Linked DNA regions of Homo sapiens: regions 2, 3 and 4 are each linked to region 1. Evidence: promoter capture Hi-C in 16 types of primary human blood cells and fetal thymus (Javierre and others, 2016). All regions are on one chromosome and are shown on one strand. Each heading gives the region's core, a stretch centred on a gene start or on the middle of the fragment in contact. The rest is flanking DNA. Distances are from core to core; before and after follow the strand shown. Region 1 holds the start of KCNH4 (potassium voltage-gated channel subfamily H member 4). Region 2 overlaps STAT3 (signal transducer and activator of transcription 3). Region 3 overlaps LOC102725238 (a long non-coding RNA gene). Region 4 overlaps DNAJC7 (DnaJ heat shock protein family (Hsp40) member C7).

What was found. Contacts are between HindIII fragments. The CHiCAGO score rates a contact against its expected background, and 5 or more counts as called.
Region 2: a fragment that was not itself captured here is called in contact with the fragment with the promoter of KCNH4 in region 1 in 1 of 17 cell types (activated CD4 T cells); the score reaches 5.7 in activated CD4 T cells.
Region 3: a contact is called between a fragment that was not itself captured here and the fragment with the promoter of KCNH4 in region 1, in 1 of 17 cell types (activated CD4 T cells). The highest score is 6.1, in activated CD4 T cells.
Region 4: a contact is called between a fragment that was not itself captured here and the fragment with the promoter of KCNH4 in region 1, in 2 of 17 cell types (endothelial precursors and monocytes). The highest score is 5.6, in endothelial precursors.

Annotation. Positions count from the first base shown.
Region 1 is chr17:42,176,565-42,182,817 of GRCh38, forward strand. KCNH4 (potassium voltage-gated channel subfamily H member 4) reads right to left here and starts at 4,578. Exons shown (of 17, transcript NM_012285.3): 1 at 4,306-4,578; 2 at 2,229-2,462; 3 at 1,767-1,913; 4 at 1,536-1,663. The coding sequence starts at 4,381. RefSeq lists enhancers at 1,819-2,320, 2,971-3,538 and silencers at 4,488-4,727, 4,734-5,009. The HindIII fragment of the contact is 8,013 bases long and covers 2,861-6,253 here.
Region 2 is chr17:42,312,247-42,316,953 of GRCh38, forward strand. It overlaps STAT3 (signal transducer and activator of transcription 3), which reads right to left. Exons shown (of 24, transcript NM_139276.3): 23 at 4,543-4,655; 24 at 1,078-3,554. The coding sequence ends at 3,499. Among named protein-coding and RNA genes, the nearest start is that of STAT5A, 26 kb to the left of the region's middle. RefSeq lists silencers at 1-86, 157-256, 377-536. The HindIII fragment of the contact is 3,238 bases long and covers 1,547-4,707 here.
Region 3 is chr17:42,427,975-42,434,515 of GRCh38, forward strand. All of the region lies in intron 2 of LOC102725238 (a long non-coding RNA gene), which reads left to right. Among named protein-coding and RNA genes, the nearest start is that of CAVIN1, 8.0 kb to the left of the region's middle. The HindIII fragment of the contact is 494 bases long and covers 3,676-4,169 here.
Region 4 is chr17:41,984,572-41,990,877 of GRCh38, forward strand. It overlaps DNAJC7 (DnaJ heat shock protein family (Hsp40) member C7), which reads right to left. Exons shown (of 14, transcript NM_003315.4): 6 at 5,693-5,811; 7 at 4,833-4,986; 8 at 4,161-4,325; 9 at 3,248-3,339. Among named protein-coding and RNA genes, the nearest start is that of CNP, 21 kb to the left of the region's middle. RefSeq lists enhancers at 3,373-3,873, 3,874-4,374. The HindIII fragment of the contact is 969 bases long and covers 2,321-3,289 here.

The DNA of each region.
Region 1 (6,253 bases), core at 3,328-5,827:
CAGGCTGGAGTGCAAGGGCATGATCTTGGCTCACTGCAACCTCCACCTCCTGGGTTCAAGTGATTCTCCTGCCACAGCCTCCCAAACAGCTGGGACTACGGGAACATGCCACCACACCTGACTAATTTTTGTATTTTTAGTAGAGATGGGGTTTCGCCATGTTGGCCAGGCTGGTCTTGAACTCCTGACCTCAGGTGATCCACCCACCTCAGCCTCCCAAAGTGCTAGGATTACAGGTGTGAGCCACTGTGCCCGGCCCCAGGCCCCTGTTTGAACCAATCATGTCTTGTCAAGGGTATTTATGAGGCTTGACATTCACCCAACTTGATTTTTACATTTTTAAGTTTAGAGACAGTCTCACTCTGTGCCCAGGCTGGAGTGCAGTGGCACCATCATAACTCACTGCAGCCTTAAACTCCTGGGCTCAAGCTATCCTCCTGCCTCAGGCTCCAGAGTAGCTGGGACCACAGGCATGCACCACCATAGCCAGATAATTTTTTTTTTTTGAGAGTTTCACTCTTGTTGCCCAGGCTGGAGTGCAATGGTGCAATCTCGGCTCACCGCAACCTCCACCTCCCGGGTTCAAGTGATTCTTCTGCTTCAGCCTTCCAAGTAGCTGGGATTACAGGCATGTGCCACCATACCCATCTAACTTTGTATTTTTAGTAGAGATGGGGTTTCTCCATGTTGGTCAGGCTGGTCTTGAACTCCCGACCTCAGGTGATCCGCCTGCCTCAGCCTCCCAAAGTGCTGGGATTACAGGCATCAGCCACTGCGCCTGGCCTCCAGATAATTTTTAATTTTTTTTTTTTTTTTTAGAAAAGGGGTCTCACTATGTTGCCCAGGCTGGTCTAGAACTCCTGGCCTCAAGCAATCCTCCTGCCTTGGCCTCCCAAAGTGCTGGGATTACAGGCATGAGCCACTGTGCCTGGCCCAACACTCATCCTACTTGAGAAGAAGACTATGACAAATCGGCACATGCCCTAGCTTGAGGGGTACCTAACTTCTCCCTTAAGTTCCTCTTGGGTTCTGGGGGCCCAGTGGGGGCTGGGTATATCCCAGCAGGGAGCAGAGGCTGGCATAGCCCACCGCATTCCCTGTATCCCTAACAGAGGGTTGGGGACTCAATCCCCTGGCTTGGTCAGGATCCTAGGAGGTGGTACACAGGTCTAGATGCCAGGCCTGCAATGAGGGCTTTCTCCCTAGAACTATAGCAGCTTGCAATTTCACCACCCATGGTATAACCCTATCACCCCCGGGCAGGTGAGGTCATTGCTGCTAGAGCAATGTGACATCATCGGAGCAAAGTAATGTCAATCACCTAAGGGAATGAGGGAGATAGGGATAGAAGGATGTTGGGGGAGGATATAGGATGGAGCATATACCATATAGAGTAGTATATGGGAAATGGGTGGGCAGAGGAGCAAGCCAAGGAGGGACACCAGACAGACAGGGAAGTGGGGAGACAGTGGCAGGGGTGCCTCAGAATCAAGGCTGGAGGACTTGGGAGATGTTGGGTTGGGGGTGGGACTCACATTATTGGCCTTCATGCCTCCCTGGCCCCGGCGGCCAAAGTGGCCGGTCAGTCGGTGTAGGACAGTACGGCTCCGTCTTCTGGCAGACCGAAATTTCCAGGTGGCTCCCCTTCTACCAAGGGAGTTTTCTGTTGGGAAGAAAGGTGCAGAGATACGTTGGGGCACATCCCTTGCGGCTGGTTAGGCGAAGGCTTCTGACCATTCACACTGCCCGTCCGGACTTGCTGTTACCGTGATTACTGTCCCCGCGGCCTCCTTGGGGGCCAAGTCCTGGGCTTCCACTCTGAGTGATATCCTTGAAGGAAAAGAGGAACAGCACGACCTCCCCCATCTCATTCTTGATGGGCATCATGTCCAGGAGGCACCAAAAGGCTGAGCCTGTAGGCATGGAGAGAGGGAAGGGAGGAGCATGGGCAGCCCCATGGCATGCCTTTCTCCTCATCCCTCTCATCCTCCTAGACATAGTTAAGAGCTTGGCAAAGCAAGAACCAAAAGGAACCTCAGAGATTCTGTCAGCCGATTCCTTCATCTTTCAAATGGGGGAACCCAGGACCAGAGAGGTCAGGGATACGCTCCGTCACAGTCAGCTTTTGGCAGTGTGGGGACAAGCACTCAGACTCCTACTGTGCCCAGTGCCCTCTGGATAAGGCTAGGGGTCTAGGCAGAGCTGCAGGGTGGGGTGAGCCCCCTCACCATCCTTGCGGTAGAAGCAGATTTCAGCCCGGTGCTCCTGGTGGCCCTCCAGGGCTTTGTGCAGACGCTGCAGGGCTGGCTCACTGGTCTCTGGGCCGTAGAGGAAACGGCAGCTGCAGGTCTTCTGCATGACCTCGGTGCGACCGTAGCCTGTGAGCTCGCAGAAGCCGTCGGAGCAGTAGACGATGGGAAAGCCCCGTGTGCCCTGTGCGTTGGCCAGCAGGAAGTTGCTGTCTGTGGGAAGAAGAGGTCAAGGTCAGGTCAAGGCTGGGAGGCGAGCTAGCTTCCAGGTGGGCAGCACTTCCTCTAAGTTGGGGTTAGAAGTCACAGAGCCAGAAGCTTCCCAGGTTTCCATGTTGCTCCTGACCCCACTTTGGGATATTCTGAATTGAGAATTGGAGAAGTTGGAGCAAAGAGACAAGGACTTGAGACAGGACTTAAGCAGGGTCTAACGGGGAGTTGGAGAAGGACCCCAGGAGGTCATGCCATCCATCCCCCTGCCTTCCAACTGGTGAGCTGTCACTGTAGAAGGCAGTATAGCATGGTGAGTAAGAGCCTGGGCTCCTGCAACCCTCCACTGCCACTTACTAACTGTGTGACCTTGGGCAAGTTGATGACCTCTTCTGTGCCTAAGCTTTCCTTATTTGCAAAGTAGGGCATAATAGGCCTTCCTCACATGGTCGTTGTGAGAGTTACATGAGTTAACTTGGGGAGAACAAGTCCTAGCACATGGTAAGTGCTACTCTGAGAAGGTGAAATTTTTTCCCCACATTCACTTGGCTTTCTTCCTATTACAGAGTAAGCAGGGCAGAGATTCTGATGACACCACACCCATTTATTGATAGGAAACCAAAAGGCAGAGATTATCCAAACTCACAGATCTCCTTAGTGTGGGGGCAGACAGTGATGAGTGCTGTCTTCCTTCCCTGCCTTCCAGAGAAGGTCCACTTTTTAGCATTCTTGTAGCTGCTTTCAGGGGATCTGCCCCACTGCTCAAAGTCTAATGGGAGAGGGCATTGAGCGTATAGCTCCAGCAACCCCCAGCAGCAGAACCCGAGCTGTCTCCCTCCAGCTCCAATGGGTGGGAGGCCAGGGGGACTCCTGTGGGCCATCCAGGGACAGAGACTCAGCTAAGAGATGGGGCCTGTGACACAACCAGTCCTGGTGCTCTAGGAGGGATGACTGTCTGGGGGCAGGGAGGCTGATGGGGACACTGAAGGTGCCTGGGAGGCACTGGGCTCTGGGCACAGCCTCCTTCTTCCATCCCAGGGCCTGTTGCCCCGGTGATGGGCGCTATGGAAACAAGGTGGTGGGGAAGAGGGTAGGGCCCGGCGGCTCAGTTTCCGCCCTCGGGTACCGCTCCCCCACCATCCAGATCCCGGCCAGGGTTCCCGAGGGAATGGCGGGGTTGGGGGAGGTGAGGGCGGGGAATCTCTGGGTTCCAGAGTGGGAAGAGGGAATGGCGGGAGAAGAGGCGGGGGAGGAGTGATGTGGCTGTCCAAGGTGCTGAACCTGAAACCCAAGCTACGTTGGGCGAGCTGGGAGTTCCCACCGTCGCACAGACCGCTCCCCTCCTCCTGCCTCACCCACCTTAGACACTGACGCCCCACGATTTGGGGGCGCGCGACCTCAATCCAAACTAGGTCCTGCTGAAGTCTGATCTTTTCTCCTTTTTTTCTGGAGGTAGTGGGAGCTGGAGTCTGTGAGTAGACCCCAGAATGCCCGGCCACTTTGCCCCACTTCTGTGTCTCGGATACCCCCATACACGCCCCCAGCACAGCTCTGCCCGAGAGTGGGCGGCTCCGAAGGACCCTCCTCCGCTCTGCCGCACAAAGAGCCTCTTCTGCCTCGAGTCACACCCCCTAACCTTGGCCCCCGTGCTCTCGGCCCTTTCCCCTCCTCCCCTCGCAGGGCACTCCCCGCCCTGTTCCTGCACCGCGGCTTTGGGAGTTCCTAGACCCGCACCTCCATTCTCTCCCCTCGCCTCGGGTCTCACCATGTCCAGGAGATCCGAGACGGCCCCGAGGATACTTGCCCCCCAGCTCGAACCTCAAGCCCCGACCTCCGTCCCACTCACGCGTTCCGTCAAAACGGGTGGCGATGGTGTCCAGGAAGGTGTTTTGCGGGGCCAGCAACCCCTTCATGACCGGCATGGCCCCGGGGCGTGGGTTCAAGGCGCGGCGCTGGGGAGCTTTCAGCGCGGCCGGGCCGGAGGGGGCGCGCTGTCGGAGGGGCCGGGGCGCCCCATGCGCCCTCCTGCCTCCTCCCCTCCCTCTTACTGCCGCTGCCGCTGCCGCTGCCTCTGCTCCGAACCCCGTAGCTCTCGGCTCGGCTCAGCGCCGTTTCGGTCCCCCCCACCTCCCCACGGGCCAGGTTCTTCCCCTCGGGCTCGGCCCGCACCCGCCACGTGGCCCCACACGGGGAGGGGCCGCTAGCGACACCCGCACCCCTCTGGGCAGCCCTCCTCCCAGAGGGGAGCGGCCCACGCGTGTCTCTCGGGGAGAGAATTCGGGGCACGCCCACCGGGAGGGGAGGCCTGAAATGATGGGCGGGGCTTGAATAACAGACCCGCCCTCTTCCAGGCTGGCCACGCCTCCACACGTGGTTCCCTGGCTGCTCCTTGTGGCTCCACCTCGCGGGTTTTCCCGCGCGGCGTCCACGCTGGGCTGGTGTCTGGTTCACAGTGCCGCCTACTGGAGTTGACATATTTCGCAGCACCCACAGGCCAGTAGCTCCAGCGTGAGACAGCAAGGGTTAAGAGGCTAGTTTGCTGGTAGAGAATGGACAATGGGAAGGCTTGAAACCCCAACTCTAGAAAGCACCATTCTTACCTCCTGCCTCAGTTTTCCCAAGACACCCTGGCGAACTCTGCCTACTGAGACACAGCATGGTGGAATGAAAAGAGCTTTGGAGTCCACCAGGTAGAGTCCCAGCTCTAGACACCAATCGTGTGATATCCTCTCCAAGCCCACTTTCCTCATCTGTAAAATGGAGCTGATAATTCTTACCTGATGCAGTTACCGTGAGAATGTAATACCATAATGCATGTCTTTGGTACAAAATAAGTGTCTTGAAGGGCAGTTGCCTGCCTGTTTTCCCTCTTCCTACTGTCTTAATCCTCCTCTCTGCTGCCCTTCAAGTGGAAGAGAGGCTGGAGGCAAGTTTGGGAGAAACTACCTCTGAAAAAGATAGTTTCGAGGTGGGCAGAGTCATGGCTTGCAAATCTCCAAGGATGCACATGTGAACTTTGACCTCTAACTTCTCCAAGATGGAACCAGTACAGCAGCAAGAGGGACCAAAGTGAGACTAGACACAGGACTTTCTCACTACCTATGCAGAAAATTGAGGCAGCTGAGTTCTGTGGCTGAGGGTGGCTGCTTCCCACGACAAAACAGCTGAAGCAGTGAAAGTGGGAACCCTATGGGCAAGGAGGGCAGGCTAAATTCTCCCCACCCTCTGAGCTAGGTATTATCTGGGATGTTAGATTGCTAAGAAGTGCCACATTTTTCTGTGTCTCTACTTTTGTTGTTGTTGTTGTTCTTGTTGTTCTTGTTCTTGTTGTTTTTGAGACGGAGTCTTGCTCTGTTGCCCAGGCTGGAGTGCAGTGGCATGACCTCAGCTCACTGCAACCTCTGCCTCCTGGGTTCAAGCAATTCTCCCGCCTCAGCCTCCTTAGTAGCTGGGATCACAGGCGTGCATTACAATGCCCGGCTAATTTTTGTATTTTTAGTAGAGATGGGGTTTCGCCATGTTTGCCAGGCTGGTCTTGAACTCCTGACCTCAAGTGATCCGCCCGCCTCAGCCTCCCAAAGTGCTGGGATTACAGGCATGAGCCACGGAGCCTAGCCTGTGTCTCTACTTTTGGATGTTATATTAGTTTCCTAGGACTGCCATAACAAAGTACCACAAAGTGAGTGGCTCAAACAACAGAAACCTATTGTCTCACAGTTCTGGATGCTAGAAGTCCAAGCAAGGTCAGGTGAAGAGCGTTGGTTCCTTCTGAAGGCTATGAGGGAGAATCTGTT
Region 2 (4,707 bases), core at 1,916-4,415, 130 kb after region 1:
TCCTTAGCAGCTGCTGCTCCCAGCAGCCTCGAAGCTGGCGGCTGAGGGCCCGGCGCCAAGATGCTTCTCAACCCTCGGGGCCAGGGGCAGTCCCAGAGCCGCAACAACCGTCCCATCCTCCTCCTTCCCAGAGACCAGCAGGTGGCACCACGCGGCTGCGCTGTTTTCAGCTGGCTGCCGGCGACTGTGCGAGGCGGAGGTGCAGCAAGCGGGACCGGCTCGCCCCGGCTGGACCCCCGCACTGCCGGCTGCAGCCAGTCCCTGCTGTCGCTGGGGCCCTTGGGCTCAGGGACGCGCGCTCCCTGGGCGGGGCTGGGAGCCAGGTTTGCGGGCAGGTTCCTTCTGAGCTCAGAGCTCAAGCGAGGGAGAGGGGCGGCGCGTGGGCCCCAAGAGGGAGGTGCAGGGGGCCCAGAGCAGGGGGAAGGCGGGGGTGGGAGAAGAGAGGAGGGGAGGGGACGGGCAGGTGCCACCGCCCCAGGGGGCTAATCTGATCCATCTCTGCGAGGGAAGGTGCTCGCTCGTAGCTCCCAGGCGCGGTCTCCAGGGCGCTGGGGCACGTGTAGGGGTGGGGAGAAGCCCTGTGGGCGCCCGCGTAGCTGAGGTTGGGGCGCCTTTCCCTGCATTATCACCGCTGGCTGCCGGGGGCCCTGCAGCCACCACCGGGTGTCTGCGTGTTGTCCCCGCTGGGTGAACTGAAGGGAAAGTGATAAAGGAGCCAACTGTGGAAGGGGAGGCCTTGGTGCGGTGGGAGTATCTACCCCCCACCCCGCTTAGGTGGCTTATCTGACCCCAGACAGGACGAGGCCGCTCTGGGGGGTAGGAGGGGGCCGGGGAGGGAGGCCTCCACTCTGACACCTTTCTGCCGTTGGACTATTGACCTCCTGCTCCTCCAGGCACCCCTTACCTCCGGGCTGGTGGCTAACATAAGGGGGTTGGCGGGGGGGATTAAGGCAACCACCTCCTCTCAAGACCCTTTCCGGCCCTTATCCCAGGCCCCACCTGTGTGTGAGGCCCCCTCAGAACTTATGCAGGGGAAAAGGAAGCCTCCACCAGCCAAACAGAGCTGCCATGCTATCAGACGGTTCCTATATAACGTTTATTTCTGGAAGTTAAAGTAGATACAGCAATATACCAAAAAAAAAAAAAAAAAAAAAAGACAAAAAACCTCACAATAATATAAATTTTTACACTATGAAGTACACATTGGAATTTGAATGCAGTGGCCAGGACAGCAGCTTATAAACCACCTTATAGGTAGGTAAGCAACCCACGGGATTCCCTCGGCTGGGCTGGGGATGGGGAGGGGGCAGTGGACAGGAAGCGGGCAGGGCCTGAGGACCCTGTTCTTTAATGGGCCACAACAGGGCTCAGCTCCTCTCAGAACTTTTGCTACAATCAGAGTTAAGACCAGATACATGCTACCTAAGGCCATGAACTTGACAATATCTGCTCCAGAGAAGCCCTGAACCCTCGCCCTAGGTCCCTATGATTTAAACCCAATGGTAAGCCCAAGTCTCACCTTTCTAAATATTCTGTTTATCAGTTAAGCTTATTATGTACTGAAGAGTGTTGCTGGAGAAGTAAGAGCTCTGCATGACACATCAACTGTCTCCAGGCAGGAGGACTGGGGCGAACCCTGTTCATCTTAGAGAAGGTCGTCTCCCCCTTAATTCAGAGACCAGCTAATTTGATTTAACAAACAGAATTCCACAGAAACTCTGATCAGCTGAGGCAAGGTGGTTTTGAGTTGCCAAATCCGGCCATGCCTCTGAGTCAGAGGCAGCCCATCCAGCACGTGCTAGGTGTTCCCATACGCACAGGAGAGGCGAGCTAGCCAGCCAAGGCGGGCAGGCGGGGAGGCCCTCTAGCTGTTCTGCCTCACCTGTGGGGCCCCAGCAGGGAGGAGTCACCAGCCTCAGAGGGAGGCCAGGTATACACCCTCATACGAGGGCAGACTCAAGTTTATCAGTAAGCCTTTGCCCTGCATGAACTGAATGAAGACGCCATTACAAGTGCCACTGGATATCACCAAGAAACTGGCTAAGAACCATATTCCCTGAGCTCAACCAGACACGTCGCTGGGGCCCCATAGTGTGCATCATGTCCAACCTGTAACTCTCTCCCCCTCTTCTTCCATGAGGTCCTGAGACCAGGATTCCTAAAACAAACAGGATGAGGGACCTTTAGACACGCAAGGAGACATGCCTCTAGCAGGATCAGGGGGACTGGGGTCGGGAGGGTGGGGCAGGAAGGAAGCCAGAATCAGAAGTATCCCAGCCCTGATAAGGCACCCACAGAAACAACCTAGCCTCTGAAACAGCAGATCAAGTCCAGGGAGAAAGGGAGTCAAGGTTGTAAGCACCCTCTGCCCAGCCTTACTCACTAAAAGGCCAATACATTACAAAGGAAAATAAGTCTATTTATAAAAAAAAGTCTAAAATGCTTAGATTCTCCTTAAACCTTCCTATTTCAACACCAAAGGCCAGGTTGCAGCTTCAGATGTCTTAAGGGTTTGACCTGAAGCCCGTTTCAGGGATTATATAAATTACCAGCCTGAAGGAAGCTGAATGCTTAAAGCACCAAGGAGGCTGTTAACTGAAGTTTCTTTTTTTTTTTTTTTTTTTTGAGACAGAGTCTCAGACTGTCGCCCAGGATGGAGTGCAGTGTGCAGTGGTGCAATTTTGGCTCACTGCAACCTCCGCCTCTCAGGTTCAAGCGATTCTCCTGCCTCAGCCTCCCGAGTAGCTGGGACTACAGGCGCCCACCACCACACCCAGCTAATTTTTTGTACTTTTAGTAGAGACGGGGTTTCACCGTGTTAGCCAGGATGGTCTTGATCTCCTGACCTTATGATCCGCCTCGGCCTCCCAAAGTGCTGGGATTACAGGCGTGAGCCACCATGCCCGGCTGCTTAAGTTTCTTAAATACAGAAAGGCTATGCTGATACAGTGTTTTTTGCCCTTTAATTGTTATTATTTCTTAATTTAAAAAGAAACCTAGGGCTTAGATAGTCCTATCTTCTATTTGGATGTCAGCAAGGTTAAAAAGTGCAATGCCAGGAGTATGTAGCTATAGGTGGCCTGTGGCATTTGCTTACAGAAACAGGCAGAAGGATGCCGCAGGCACCAGGAGGCACTTGTCTAAGAACAACAACAACAATAACAAAAAGCTGCTGAGAAAGGAGGGCAGGGGAACAAAACAACACAAGACATTTCCTTTTTCTCCCTCTAGCCACCCCCCGCCACATCCCCTGATCATGGGTCTCAGAGAACACATCCTTATTTGCATTTAGATAAAAGCAGATCACCCACATTCACTCATTTCTCTATTTTTAAAAGTGCCCAGATTGCTCAAAGATAGCAGAAGTAGGAGATTAAAAAAAATCTGGAACCACAAAGTTAGTAGTTTCAGATGATCTGGGGTTTGGCTGTGTGAGGGGTGGCAGAATGCAGGTAGGCGCCTCAGTCGTATCTTTCTGCAGCTTCCGTTCTCAGCTCCTCACATGGGGGAGGTAGCGCACTCCGAGGTCAACTCCATGTCAAAGGTGAGGGACTCTGGAGGGACAGACAGGGAAAACTAGTTCAGTTGTCCACCCTCTGCAACTGGCAGGCCACGCCCCCAGCCCTTCAGAGGACAGGGCCCAGGCTACCACTGCTATCCAATCTCCTGCCCCTTAAGGCCCAGGGATGGTCAGAAAAGCCAGATTTACCCTCCTCCCTGGAGGACCCTGCCTCGGGAAGGGTCCTTTCTCATTCCCACCTTAACTGATTCCCAGAGCTCCATGTTTACAGAAGCTCTAAGGCTGTCCTGAGATCTTCTGCCCTTGATCTACTGTTTAATTCAGGAGCCCCGAGACACACGTGGCCACCAAGCATTTGAGATTTGGTTTGTCCAAACTGAGCTGTGCTGTGGCTGTCAAAAGCCCACTGGATTTTAAAGGCTTAGTATGAAAAAAAAGAATAAAAAAAGGTCTCAACTTTTTCTTTTTAGTTTAGTTTTGTTTATTTGAGATGGAGTCTCACTCTGTCGCCCAGGCTGGAGTGCAGTGGCACGATCTCTGCTCACTGCAACCTCCACCTCCCAGGCTCAAGCGATCCTCCCACCTCAGCTTCTTGAGTAGCTGGGATTACAGGTATGCGCCACCATGCCCAGCTAATTTTTATATTTTAGAGATTTTGGTCAGACTGGTCTCGAACTCCTGACCTCAAGTGATCCACCCACCTCGGCCTCCCAAAGTGCTGGGATTACAGGCATGAGCCACTCACCCAGCCTCAACTTTTTCTGAAATGTTAAATTGAGAGTATGTTGGATTTAGTGGGTTAAATAAAATATATTGTAAAAATTAAGTTCGTCTATTTCCAGTGTGGCTGCTAGAAGATTTATACTCACACATGTGGCATTCATACCATCTCTTTTGGAAAGCAAAGCTCTAGAATCTCCTACCATTCCGAGTGACCAGCTCTCGGTGTGTACATGTGAGAGCATCACACAAAGGGGACCAACTTCCCTTATAGGGACAAAGTCTGTCAACCAAATACTCACCAAACTGCCCTCCTGCTGAGGGTTCAGCACCTTCACCATTATTTCCAAACTGCATCAATGAATCTAAAGTGCGGGGGGACATCGGCAGGTCAATGGTATTGCTGCAGGTCGTTCTGTAGGAAATGGGGGGCAGCAGGAGGGGAAACGGGGGGTTGACAAGACACA
Region 3 (6,541 bases), core at 2,673-5,172, 250 kb after region 1:
ACAGATTACAATTTAAATCTCATGGGGGAGGAGTTGCTGAAGACAAGTGGGATTTTTTTGTTTTTGTTTTTTGCTTTTGAGGCAGGATCTCATTCTGTTGCCTAGGCTGGAGTGCAGTTGCTCAATCAGGGCTTACTGCAGCCTCGAACTGCTGGGCTCAAGCAATCCTCCCAACTCAGCCTCCAGAGTAGCTGGGACCACAGGTACACACCACCACACCTGGCTAATTTTTAAATTTCTTGTAGAGACAGAGTCCCAGCCATGGGGTTTTGCCACGTTGCCTAGGCTGGTCTTGAACTCCTGGGCTCAAGTGATCCTCCCGTCTTGGCCTCCTGAAGTGCTGGGATTACAGGAATGGGCCACTGTGCCCAGCCTCATCAGGAAAGTATTTCTATACCACTTCTTCAAACAGGAATGTCAGAATTTGTGGATGAGTCAAGTTATGTCCCAGGGGTAGTCCAGTGAATACATCTCTGACTCATTTAATGCCTCCTTAATGGATGATTTCTGTAAAAGGGCCCTACCCCTGCATGCCTATGTTGGAGAAAAATCTGCATCAACAAGTTTCTCTCACATTCCTTTTCTTACTAAATGCCAGCTAAGTCCAACAGGGGGCATGCTGAGGCATATTGTACTAGCTCCACCAGCACAGATGCCGCAAACTGGAGCAGAGCAGTCCTTTCCAGAGCATTTCACTCCATTCCAGTGAAAATAAGCAGTTTCTCTTCATTTGTAACTGCATTCAGCATGCCATTGCCTGCATTCAGGGTTGTTGGTTTGCATTTTCCATTGCTCACTCTATTTGCTTGCTGAAAGGCACACTGTTCCATTGTGTGCTTTCAGCCACTGAGACAGAATCCATAAAAGGGATAGTGAGGTAAAAGCAAACAACCCCTTTGGCCCAGAAAAAGGACACCAGGATGCAACATGTCAGCAGTTAGAATCTTACAGGGTGCTCTATCGTATTCTTCCATCCATCTACTTGTTCAATAAAACATGACTACTTCGCACTAGCCATTTACTGGGCTAGGGACTTTAATGAGGATAAATCAAGTCTAGTCCTTTTTTTTTTTTTTTTTTTTTTGAGACGGAGTCTCACTGTTGCCCAGGCTGGAGTACAGTGGCGCCATCTCAGCTCACTGCAACCTCTGCCTCCCAGATTCTCCTCCCTCAGCTTCCCAAGTACCTGGGATCACAGGCACCCACCACCACATCTGGCTAATTTTTATAGAGTTGGGGTTTCGCCATGTTGGCCATGGCTGGTCTTGAACTCCTGATCTCAGGTGACCCGCCTGCTTCGGCCTCCCAAAGTGCTGGGATTATTGGCGTGAGCCACTGCACCCGGCCTTTTTTTTTTTTTTGAGACGGAGTCTCGCTGTGTTGCCAGGCTGGACTGCAGTGGCGCGATCTTGGCTCACTGCAACCTCCGCCTCCCGGGTTCAAGTGATTCTCCTGCCTCAGCCTCCTGAGTAGCCGGGATTACAGGCACACAGCACCATGCCCAGCTAATTTTTGTATTTTGAGTAGAGATGGGTTTTACCATGTTGGCCAGGCTGGTCTCAAACACCTGATCTCAGGTGATCCACCCAAAGTGCTGGGATTACAGGCATGAGACACCACGCCTGGCCACCCCCAGCATTTTTTTTTTTTTTAAAGACAAAGTCACATTCTGTTGTCCAGGCTTGAGTGCAGTGGTGCGATCTCAGCTTGTTGCAGCCTCGACTTCCTGAGCTCAGGTGAGCCTCCTATCAGCCTCCCATGTAGTTGGGACTACAGCTGTATGCCACTACACCTGGCTAAATTTTTTTTTTTTTTTTTTTTTTGTAGAGATGGGGTTTTGCCATATTTCCCAGGCCACTCTTGAACTCCTGGGCTCAAGTGATCTGTTCACCTCGGCCTCCCAAAGTGCTGGCATTACAGGTGTGAAACTCTGCACCTGGCCAGATGCATAGTGTCTGACACAGCTGAAAGCTCCCCCCCAGCATAGGGAAAGCAGTCACTACTCTCAGGAAGAGTGGGGAAGGGTTCACAGGTGAGGGTAGGTACAAAGGAGGGGGAAAGGACCCCCTCCCAAACCCAGTATCTTGCGGTGTGAAAGGGCACTGGGGAATAGCCAAGCACTGCTCATCTCCTCTTATCATGGTTCTGCCATAAGTCTTATCAGTTTACATTTAGGGAGATCCAGCAAAGGGTGTAATATGTAATATGTTCTGTTCAGTTTTGGATCTGTGCTGGGAGAGATCCCAGGGAGACTGTGTGTTTTGTTAATAATAAACAGCTGGGACAAATGATGTGTCTTCACATTGGGACAACCGTCTCACATGGGAGGCTAGCCCTCAGCAGCTGGCTCACAGCTGCCACAAACAACAGTGATTTTTTTTTTGCCAGTTTTATAGGCACTATTCTTGTCTCTCTGATATACATATATGAAAAATGCCTATAATATTTGTATGTTTCTCTTTCTCAAAATCCCTTCCTTTCTTTGCCTTCAAATATTAATATATAGGGTAACTTCCCTGAACCAGAAAACAGTCAAAATTATTTATTAAGTGCTAATTTATGCATAGTTTGGTGCTAGAAACCATCCAAAGGACACAACCAGCACTTTTGCTGTGGAGTGGGAATTTTAGTTTCAGAGAAGCAGTGATTCAGGCTAACAAACAGAAAATACAAAAAAACAGGAGAAGGGGGCTGCAGAAAATAAAGCAAAATACATACAGTTTTACCAGCGTGGGCAAAGTGGTAAAACCCCGTCTCTACTAAAAATACAAAAATTAGCCAGGCATGGCAGCGTGTGCCTGTGGTCCCAGCAACTCGGGAGGCTGAGGTGGGAGGATTGCTTGAGCCCAGGGGGCAGAGGCTGCAGTGAGCCAAGATCGCACCACTGCACTCCAGCCTGGGTGACAGAGTGAGAACCTGTCTCAAAAAAAAAAGCAAAACTAAGAAACCCTAGATTCCACCAATTGTTTCTCCTTTTCTTTCTTTCTTTCTTCTTTTTTTATGTTGTTGCCCAGGCTGGTCTCAAACTCCTAAGCTCCTGCCTTTGCCTCCAAACTGTTGGGATTACAGGCATGAGCCACCACACCCAGCCTTTTCTAATTTTATTTGAACTCTGATTTAGCACTGCTGACCAATTTATCTTTGAGATTCTTCCCTCTTAGCCTTGGACACTGTACTATTTTTATTTACTTGTCCCATTTGCTAGCTTATTTTTTCTTCCTTTCATTTTCTTTTTTTAAATAGCTTTATTTATTTATTTATATTGAAACAGGGTCTTGTTCTGTTGCCCAGGCTGGAGTGCAGTGGCATGATCACAGCTTACTGCAGCCTCAACCTCCCAGGCTCAAGCAATCCTCCTACCTCAGCCTCCCAAGTAGCTGGGACTACAGGCATGCACCACCACACCTGACTTACTTTTGTATTTTTGTAGAGACAAGGTCTCACTATGTTCTCCAGGCTGGTCTTGAACTCCTGAGCTCAAGCGATCCGCCTGCCTCAGCCTTCCAAAGTGCTGGGGTTACAGGCATGAGCCACTGTACCCAGCTAATTTTCAAAAATTGTCGTAGAGATGGGATCTCGCTGTTTCCCAGGCTGGTTTCAAACTCCTAGGCTCGGCTTCCCAAAGTGTTGGGATTACAAGCATAAACTGGTACATTTGGACAAAAAAAAAAAAAAAGCTTTTAATACTGCTTTAAAAGGTTAAACAATATAACTTTATTGAGGTAGAATTCACATACCACACAATTCACCTAAAGCATACAATTGAATAGATTTTACCATATTCACAATGTTGTGCAAGAATCAACTTTCATCAGCCCCCAGAAAGCCCCCGACAAAGAAAAAACACTAAAGGGAGACTTTATCCTAAAGAATGTTTGCAAGGAGGGGAAAAAGACTGTTGCAATACGGGGAGGGAGTCTATTGCAATAGGGAGAAGGATCGGCCCATAGTTCTGCAAATGTCTTAAGGGCCAGACCTTTTTCCTTTTATAGAGAGGAGTAAACAAAGCTAGAAAGAACCAGGTGTAGAGAATAGGAGGAAAGTGGCCTGATGAGAGAATAGATCAGAGAATGTTTTACCCTGAGGTCAGGCTATCCTCAGGAGGGGTTGTGTGCTGGCTCAGGCCCAGTGAGGGTGGGCCAGAGTTCAGGGCCTGGAGGAAGAAGAAAAGCTTAAACAAAATGTGTTATTTTTTTTTTTTGAAACGGAGTTTCGCTCTTGTTGTCCAGGTTGGAGTGCACTGGCGCTATCTTGGCTCATAGCAACCTCCGCCTCCCAGGTTTAAGAGATTCTCCTGCCTCAGCCTCCCGAGTAGCTGGGATTACAGGCATGCGCCACCATGCCCGGCTAATTTTTTGTATTTTTAGTAGAGACAGGGTTTCTCCATGTTGGTCAGCCTGGTCTCGAAGTCCCAACTTCAGATTACAGGCTTAAGCCACCGAGCCCAGCCTTTTATTTATTTATTTATTTTTGAGACGGAGTCTCACTCTGTCACCCAGGCTGGAGTACAATGGCGTGATCTCGGCTCACTGCAACCTCCGCCTCCCGGGTTCAAGTGATTCTCCCACCTCAGCCTCCTGAGTAACTGGGATTACAGACACACGCCATCATGCCCGGCTAATTTTTGTATTTTTGTAGAAACGGGTTTCACTATGTTGGCCAGGCTGGCCTTGAACTCCTGACCTCAGGTGATCTGCCCACCTTGGCCTCCCAAAGTGCTGAGATTACAGGTGTGAGCCACCACGCTGAACCAACAAAATTTGTTTAATGAGCATTTTGTTCATCGTGATCAGTGTTGGGAAAACCAGTTTAGCTGGTCATTCATGAGGCAGAGAATAAGAATTTGAAGTTCTGTGTCTGTTCCTGTCACAGGTAAACAATGGGGGGCATCTGCGAGTCACATGGGGAAGGGTGGTTCTTGGCAGTAAACAAAAACATAGGGGATTCCTTTAACCTTGGATGTTTTCCAAGAGCACAGGGCTCAGGTGAAATTCACCACTGTTACCTCATACCCATTAGCTGTCACTCCCCACTCCTCTCTTCCCTGTCCCCTAGCAACCAGTAAGTTTTAAGTCTCTATAGATTTTCCTGTTCTGAACACTTCATATGAATGGAATCATACAATTTGTAGCCTTTTGTGTCTCGCTTCTTTTACTTAGCATGTTTTCAAGGTTGATCTATGTTGTAGCATGTATCAATACTTCATTCCTCTTTATGGCTATATTCCGTTGTATAAATATGCCCCATGCTGTTTATCCATTCATCAGCTGATGGACGTTTGAGTTGTTTCCATTTTTTTGTTTTTTTAAGAGACAGTCTCCCTGTTGCCCAAGCTGGTGTGCAATGGCACAATCATGGCTCACTGCAACCTCAAACTACTGGTCTCTAGCCATCCTCCTTCCTCAGCCTCCCAAGTAGCTTGGACTACTGGTCACAACAGGCTAATTTTTTTTTTAGACGGAGTCTTGCTCTGTCACCCAGGCTGGAATACAGTGGCACAATCTCGGCTCACTGCAACCTCTGCCCCCTGGGTTCAAGCAATTCTCCTGCTTAAGCCTCCCGAGTAGCTGGGATTACAGGTGCGCATGACCACGTCTGGCTAATTTTTGTATTTTTAGTAGAGACGGGGTTTCACCATGTTGGTCAGGCTGGTCTCGAACTCCTGACCTCATAATCCACCCACCTCAGCCTTCCAAAGTGCTGGGATTACAGGCGTGAGCCACCATGCCCCGCCTAAACCAAATATCTTTCCTCAAAAGCTAGAATGCTTCTTGGCTTATTTCTGTTGATGGTGGGACCGTCCTATCAAACACCAGAGACTCCAACCTTAGAATTATATTTATCTCCTCTCTTTCTCTCATCTACTAAAGCAAATGAAATCCCAGATCCTGCCTTCCTTCCTTCATTATCACTCCCCTGTAATTCCCATTTCTGTGACTGTCTGTCTGATCCTGTTGTTACCAGCTGATGGCTGTTACTGTACTTTCCTAGTTTGTCTCTGTGTCTCCAACCTTTTCCTTCCAATTCATAATGCATTTTAGAATGAAAATTGATTTGAAAAACTGTAAATGATAGTTTGGAAGGTGCTGGGACTAGAAAAAAGGAGATCTAACAGGAGACTACTGCAATAGTCCCAGCAGGGGAAGATGATCATTTGAACTAGAGCATTACGGGGCACAGAGAGAGGACTGATGGGTGAGCACTATAGCATGAAAACCATTAGGGCTTGATGAATGAGTACATGTAGATACTGAAGGAGAAGGAGGAGTCTAAAATATTACAATTTTGGCTGGGTGCAGTGGCTCACGCCTGTAATTCCAGCACTTTGGGAGGCCAAGGCAGGCGGATCATTTGAGGTCAGGAGTTCAAGATCACCCTGGCCAACATGGTGAAACCCTGTCTCTACCAAAAAATACAAAAACTAGCCGGGTGTGGTGGCGCATGCCTGTAGTCCCAGCTACTTGGGAGGCTGAGGCAGGAGAATCACTTGAACCCGGGAGGTAGAGGTTGCAGTGAGCTGAGATCACGCCACTGTATCCCA
Region 4 (6,306 bases), core at 1,555-4,054, 190 kb before region 1:
GTTGGGATTATAGGCGTGAGCCACCGCACCCGGCCGACTGCCAGATCTTTTAAGTGTCTCTTCCACAGAAGCAAGTGGCATTTTCCATGCCCAGATAAAATCACTGGCACCAGGGCTGGCCTACCAATTGAAGACTGTGGTAGGAGTTCCAGAGACAGCCACTGTCAGCTGGGGAATGGGAAGTGATCATGCAGTACAGCTAGCTGCTGTACAACAGAGATTCAATTTCTTACCTGCTACCACACAAGCCCATTTTCTTTCTTTTTTTTTTTTGACACAGAGTCTCACTCTGTAGCCCAGGCTGGAGTGTAATGGCACGATCTCTGCTCACTGCAACCTCCGCCTCCCAGGTTTCAAGTGATTCTCCTGCCTCAGCCTCCTGAGTAGCTGGGATTACAGGCATGTGCCACCACACCTGGCTAATTTTTTGTATTTTTAGTAGAGATGGGGTTTCACCATGTTGGCCAGGCTGGTCTCGATCTCCTGACCTGAACCGATCTGCCCGCCTCGGCCTCCCAAAGTGCTGGGATTATAGGCGTGAGCCACTGCGCCTGGCATAAGCCCATTTTCACAAACATCACAGATCCCCACCAGCTTGGAGGCCAGGGCAGGAGAGTGCTACCAATGTGGCTGGCAAAAGAGAAGCCCAACATCTTGGGCATCTTTGATTTTCTGGCATCATTTTGATTTATGACTTTAAAAAAACCAATGGCCTGCAAATACAGGACATAAATATTATATTAGGAGTTCAGAATCAATGTACAGAATAAAATGTAATAATTTGAAGTAAGAGAAATGATACTTTGATACTGCACTCCAGCCTGGGTGACAGAGCTGGATCCTGAATTAAAAAAAAAAAAAAAAGGAAAATTGATAGCTGATAGCCCTGGGTATAGAATGATGTGACAAATGATTAACCCTGATGAACTTTCTTTAGGTCTATATGTAATGTATTAAACAAACTATACTAATTTGCATTTTTACTTCATGCTTTTTAAAATTCAGGGATATCCTCACATTTTAATTTTGTTTTAAAGTTGAAGTAGAAAAGTAAATAGGGCTTTAAGGAGAAAGGGTGAACTCTAGCTCATGATGGCATGTGTAGCAAAGATGTGGGTGGGTGGCATCTCCCCAGCTTTAGGGGTAAGTTGAGGCAGACTGCAGCAGTAGTCAGGCCAGATGTAAGGGTTTGGCCCGAGCTAATCTCCAGTACTTCTTGTCAATTCCAGCTGCTTCAGGAGATTGTTGCCAAATATTCAGCCAGCTGAACAGGGCATGCTGTCTCCCCTGTAGTGATCTCAGAGGCAGAGCCACTCCAAGAAGGGCAGTTCTGTTTCTACCACAAAGATAAGAAGTTGTCTGATCAAAGCAATTCCTTATTTTCATTTCTTGCACATAAACAAAGAAGAAAATAATCCTTCATCCAATTATCCTCCGAGCAAATCAAGAATTTTCTATGGTGTTGGGGGCTTGCTTAAAAAAAAAAAAAAAAAAAAAAAAAAAAAAAAGGCCGGGCGCGGTGGCTCACACCTGCTGGTAATTCCAGAACTTTGGGAGGCCAAGACAGGCAGATCACTTGTCATCAGGAGTTTGAGAACAGCCTGGCCAACATGATGAAACCCCATCTCCAATAAAAATACAAAAATTTGCTGGGTGTGGTGACATGCGCCGGTAATCTCAGCTACTTCGGAGGCTGAAGCAGGAAATTCGCTTGAACTCAGGAGGTGGAGGTTGCAGTGAGCCAGTACGGTGCTACTGCACTCCAGCCTGAGCGACATAGCGAGACTCCATCCCGAGCGACATAGCGAGACTCCATCCCAAAAAATAAAACAAAGCGATTTTTCTCTTCTCTTCCCATCCCCTGGCATTCCATATACAGAGCATTCCATTAAGTTCATACAGTATCAAGTATCTAGCCACCCCCTTCCCACTGGACATGTAGGTGATTCTCCCCCCGCCTTTTTTTTTTTTTTTTTTTGCTATTATAGATAAAATTGCAGCAAACACCTTCATGTATATAGCATTTTGCGTCTGTTAAAGTCAGTCTTTGGCTGAATCAAAGGGTGCTTTTTTTGTCTTCCAAAGCTTCTGCTTCTGTGTGCCAGTGGTTTGCAAAGATGGAATGACTGACAGTCAGTCTCACAGAAGTTATAATTCCCTGTATGTTTCTGTTGGACAGACTTAGTCATCAACTTAGAAATTCACTTTTAAAAAAAGCATCACACACAGCAGCAGTTTTCCTATTTTAAGTGAGATAATTTTGAGAAAACTAAGTGGGAGGTAGTCCATGAGATATTCTGTACCACTGATGAGACAAGGAAGCTTAAACTACTGGCTCATCAGGCATCAGTGACAGCATCTGTTCTTTGGATATGACATTTTATAATAAGGAGTGGAGCAGGTGCTGGAGGATTAGTATACAATAAATACATCTTCTCTAAGAACTTTAAAGACGGGAAGTTTTTCTCCGCCTAGAGAATAATCTGAAATCAGAAGAGATGGATTTCTGAGAAAGATTTCTCCTAGCCCTGTTCCTATCTGGAGAAAACCAGCTGGTGGGTCTAAGAGTAAGAGGAGCAACCATGCCAGGGAGCACCCTGACTCTGGGGCAAATGTGAGCATTAGAGGTAGGCACATCCTGGCTCATAATCACCCTGTCAGACACAGAGTGCCCTCCACTCAAAACACTCAAGCAGAGAGTAGCCATCCAGGGTGTTTCAAAAGGAAGTTCCTTTATCCTGGGAGGCTGAGCCGGATTACATCTCTTCCAACTCTAAGATTGTCTTCCCTCGCCCAGAACAAACAGGATGAAGTACAACTCTCAACTGTCTCCAAGAGTTGTTTTCTCTTCCAAGCACCATACATTCATTCAACAAAACATTTATTCAGTGAGCACCTATGTGTCAAGCACTGTGCCAGGGTAGAGCATAAGTGTACAACACAAAATAAAATCTCCAAAGGAAATGGATTTAAACTTTTTAACAAAAGGAATTTGGGTCAGGCATCAGAGGAAACTTACTGACCGTGAGGGGCGTTAGACACAGGCATGGGAGACTGAGGGAGCTTGTGCAATCTCCTCCGCTGGAGGTCTATAAAGATAGTCTAGGGCTGGAACAATCCCACCTAGAGGCAGGGGGAAGGACCAAATGACCTCACAACATCTCTGGGTCTGCTTCGTCATCCACAAGGCAATTCCCCTGAGGCCAGCGGCAACTCCCTCTTCCCCCTACCCATCAGAGGCACTTACCACTGAGCTCTTCTCAAGTAGGCTTTTATGTAAGTGTCATCAAGCTTCACTGCATTTGTGCAGTCTTCTATTGCATCATCTAGTTTCCTAAGCTTCAGGAGAGAGAGAGCAATCATACTTCACACCTTTGGTGACTGAGGGAGCCCAGAAGCTGTGAGCATGGCTTCAAAACTCTAAGAGGATCAGTCATGCTGGCCCCTTAAATGTCATATTAAGTTCTAGTTCTTTGTCACCAGGGCTATGGACAGCAACTTCAAAATTGATTTCTCTTGTATATGATACAAGCCAGGCACATCTGTCTTCAAGGATAAACTACCTTTACCATTCCATGTTAGTGCCCAATGAAAACATGAAAATAGTAAGGCTGGTTCCTGCCCTCCTTTTTTCCAGAGGTCACCTGCAGGGATCAGAAATCACTCTGATTTTTAACTGCTAGAATTCTGCAAGGGCAAGGAGTCTACTTTTTGTTTCTGATGTTGGGTAGGGCCACAAAAGCACTCAGGCCATTTTCAACCATGCATGGTGACCATCAATTACACTGGAGAAAAACAAGCTTGCCTCATACTCTTCCTCCAAATCACTCCTAAAAAATAAATGATCACTTGCATAAGCAAAACAACAAAAAAGCAACAGTAGGTGCTTAAGATTATCCCACAGACCCTAGCCATTCTCTTACTGGAGGAAAGGGACCTTAATGAACAGGTGAGAATATCCTTGCAAATTGTCCAACTGCCCTCAAATTCCATAGAGATGACAAAAGCTTGCCTCTTGGAAGGGAGTTCCTAACAAACTATTAACCATAACAACTTTCCCTCTTTCATCTTGCTTACCCTCACTAGGCAGATTTCCCAAGACCCTTTGATGTCCCTTAAAAATATTTCTATAGGCCCCAAGATCTAGATCAAGAGCTTACCTTGGAATTAACCGTACCCCGATTACAGTAGAGTTTAGCATTTGTTTTTATATTGTTGGGGTCTATCCCCAGGGCTTCTGTGTACAGTTCATATGCTAGTTTGTAATTTCCTTCCTTAAATGCTTTATTCCCATCTTCTTTCTTTGCTTTGAGTGCTTTGGCATTCTACAGAAAAAAGCAAGGGGAGGATCGGTTCATATCCACAAAGCCTCAGACCATTGCACAGAGAGGCCAGACTCTATTTTCAAGTTCTTTGCTTCCAGCAGTTCAGCATCACAGAGCCCCGCCAACCCCCAATCTGGGCTATCTGTTGCTCATTTGAGCTTCCTACAGAGTGGACAGGAAAAGAGTTACCAAAAATACCAATGAGACCTATGTTACTGGGTCTGCCTTCACTTCTCAGGACAAGTATTACTATCTATCTTCACTGAGGGGAAAAACAAAACAAAAAAACCCTCTTAGATATTAAAGGCATCCGACCCTATATGATCACATCTACCTTTAGGTAAATACAAGTAGTCCTGAAACCATTTCTAATAAAGACCAAGCATCCTTGCAAAGCAGGAGGAAAAGCTATCACATTCCTTGTGATTCTAAAACCTTCCACTCTAGCCATCTTAAAGGTCCCAAAAGGAAGCTCTTTCCCAGTTAGGTCTGGTGACTAGAACTTACTCTGCAGGCAATGCAGGCCTTCTCGTGGTCAGGAGCCATCCTGAGAGCCTGTACGAAAAACTGAACTGCCTTCTCAATACAATCTTCGTAATAAAGGCAAAGACCTCGTACATACAGAGCATCTGCATTGGTGGAATCCATTCGTAGAATGTCACTGCAATAGTCAGAAAAGGGCACATTGAGCTGTGCTTTAGAATGTCCCCACCATTACTACCATTTGTGGCCAGTTTTCCTCCTTGACCATGTGTCTAGCATTCAAAATATCCAAAGGTAGACAGATTCCCAAGAACTGTTCCCAAACTTTCCCCAAATAAACCACCTATAATTATCTTTAATACACATCTTGTGTCTTACAATCCTTATTAAACTAGAACAGGGTTTGGCAAACTACAGCCCACAGGGCCAAATCCTTTCTGCCACTGGTTTTTGTAAATAAAACACTATTCAAACAGCCACACCCATTGGTTCATCTATTATCTAGGGCAACCTTTGCACTGCAATGGCAGAGTTGAGTTAGTTGCAACAGAGACCCTGTGGCCTGCAAAGGCTAAAATCTGGCCCTTTGCAGAAAGTGTGCCAACCAGTGGAGTAGAAGGAAAAGGACTACCTTAAACAAACAAACAAAACCACAAAAACACAATCTGTTCTTTCATATATAGCTCAAGTACCTGCTATACTACTATACTCCTGTATACCCTACGGGTTTTCAAAGCTGGTCTAATCTTTGACTTTAAGTCCCAAGAGGGTCTGATCAGCCCTAGCTGGCCTACTCTGGGGACCATATCCTGTGGTGAAGCTGCCGGACACCATCAGTCCAATGGTATCTGGCATTTTAATGTCCAGCTAGCCTGACTGCATACCTAGCCACAGACTGTGCTTCTGGATAACGACCCAGCATTGCTAAACATTCTGCCTTGAGGATTTTGAAGCGATGGCAGGCAGGGGCAAATTCTAGGGCACGGTCCATGCAGAAAACAACCTGTAGGGAAGAAGAAAACAAATAAGGCTCTTCATCAGGGACTCCAGAAACATCTTCACTTTAGTTTAGTCACAGGTAACAGACTCAAAACTCAATGAGGTCTTTGGGTCCACTTCTAAGTAATATCAAAGTTTAAAAACATACCTAATTCATTAAATAAAAGCACTGAAATGAGGACAGCAAAGGCTCCAGATGATAATGAGGACAGTAAACATTTACTGGGTACTTTCATATATGAACCCATTTAATCCTCACAAGAATTTTATGAAATAGGCAATATTATCACTTTTTTTTTTTTTTTTGAGATGGAGTCTCACTCTGTCACCCAGGCTGGAGTGCAGTGGCAGGATCTTGGCTCACTGCCACCTCTGCCTCCTGGGTTCACGCCATTCTCCTGCCTCAGCCTCCCGAGTAGCTGGGACTACAGGCGCCCGCCACCACGCCCAAGCTAATTTTTTTTTGTATTTTTAGTAAACACAGGGTTTCACCATGTTA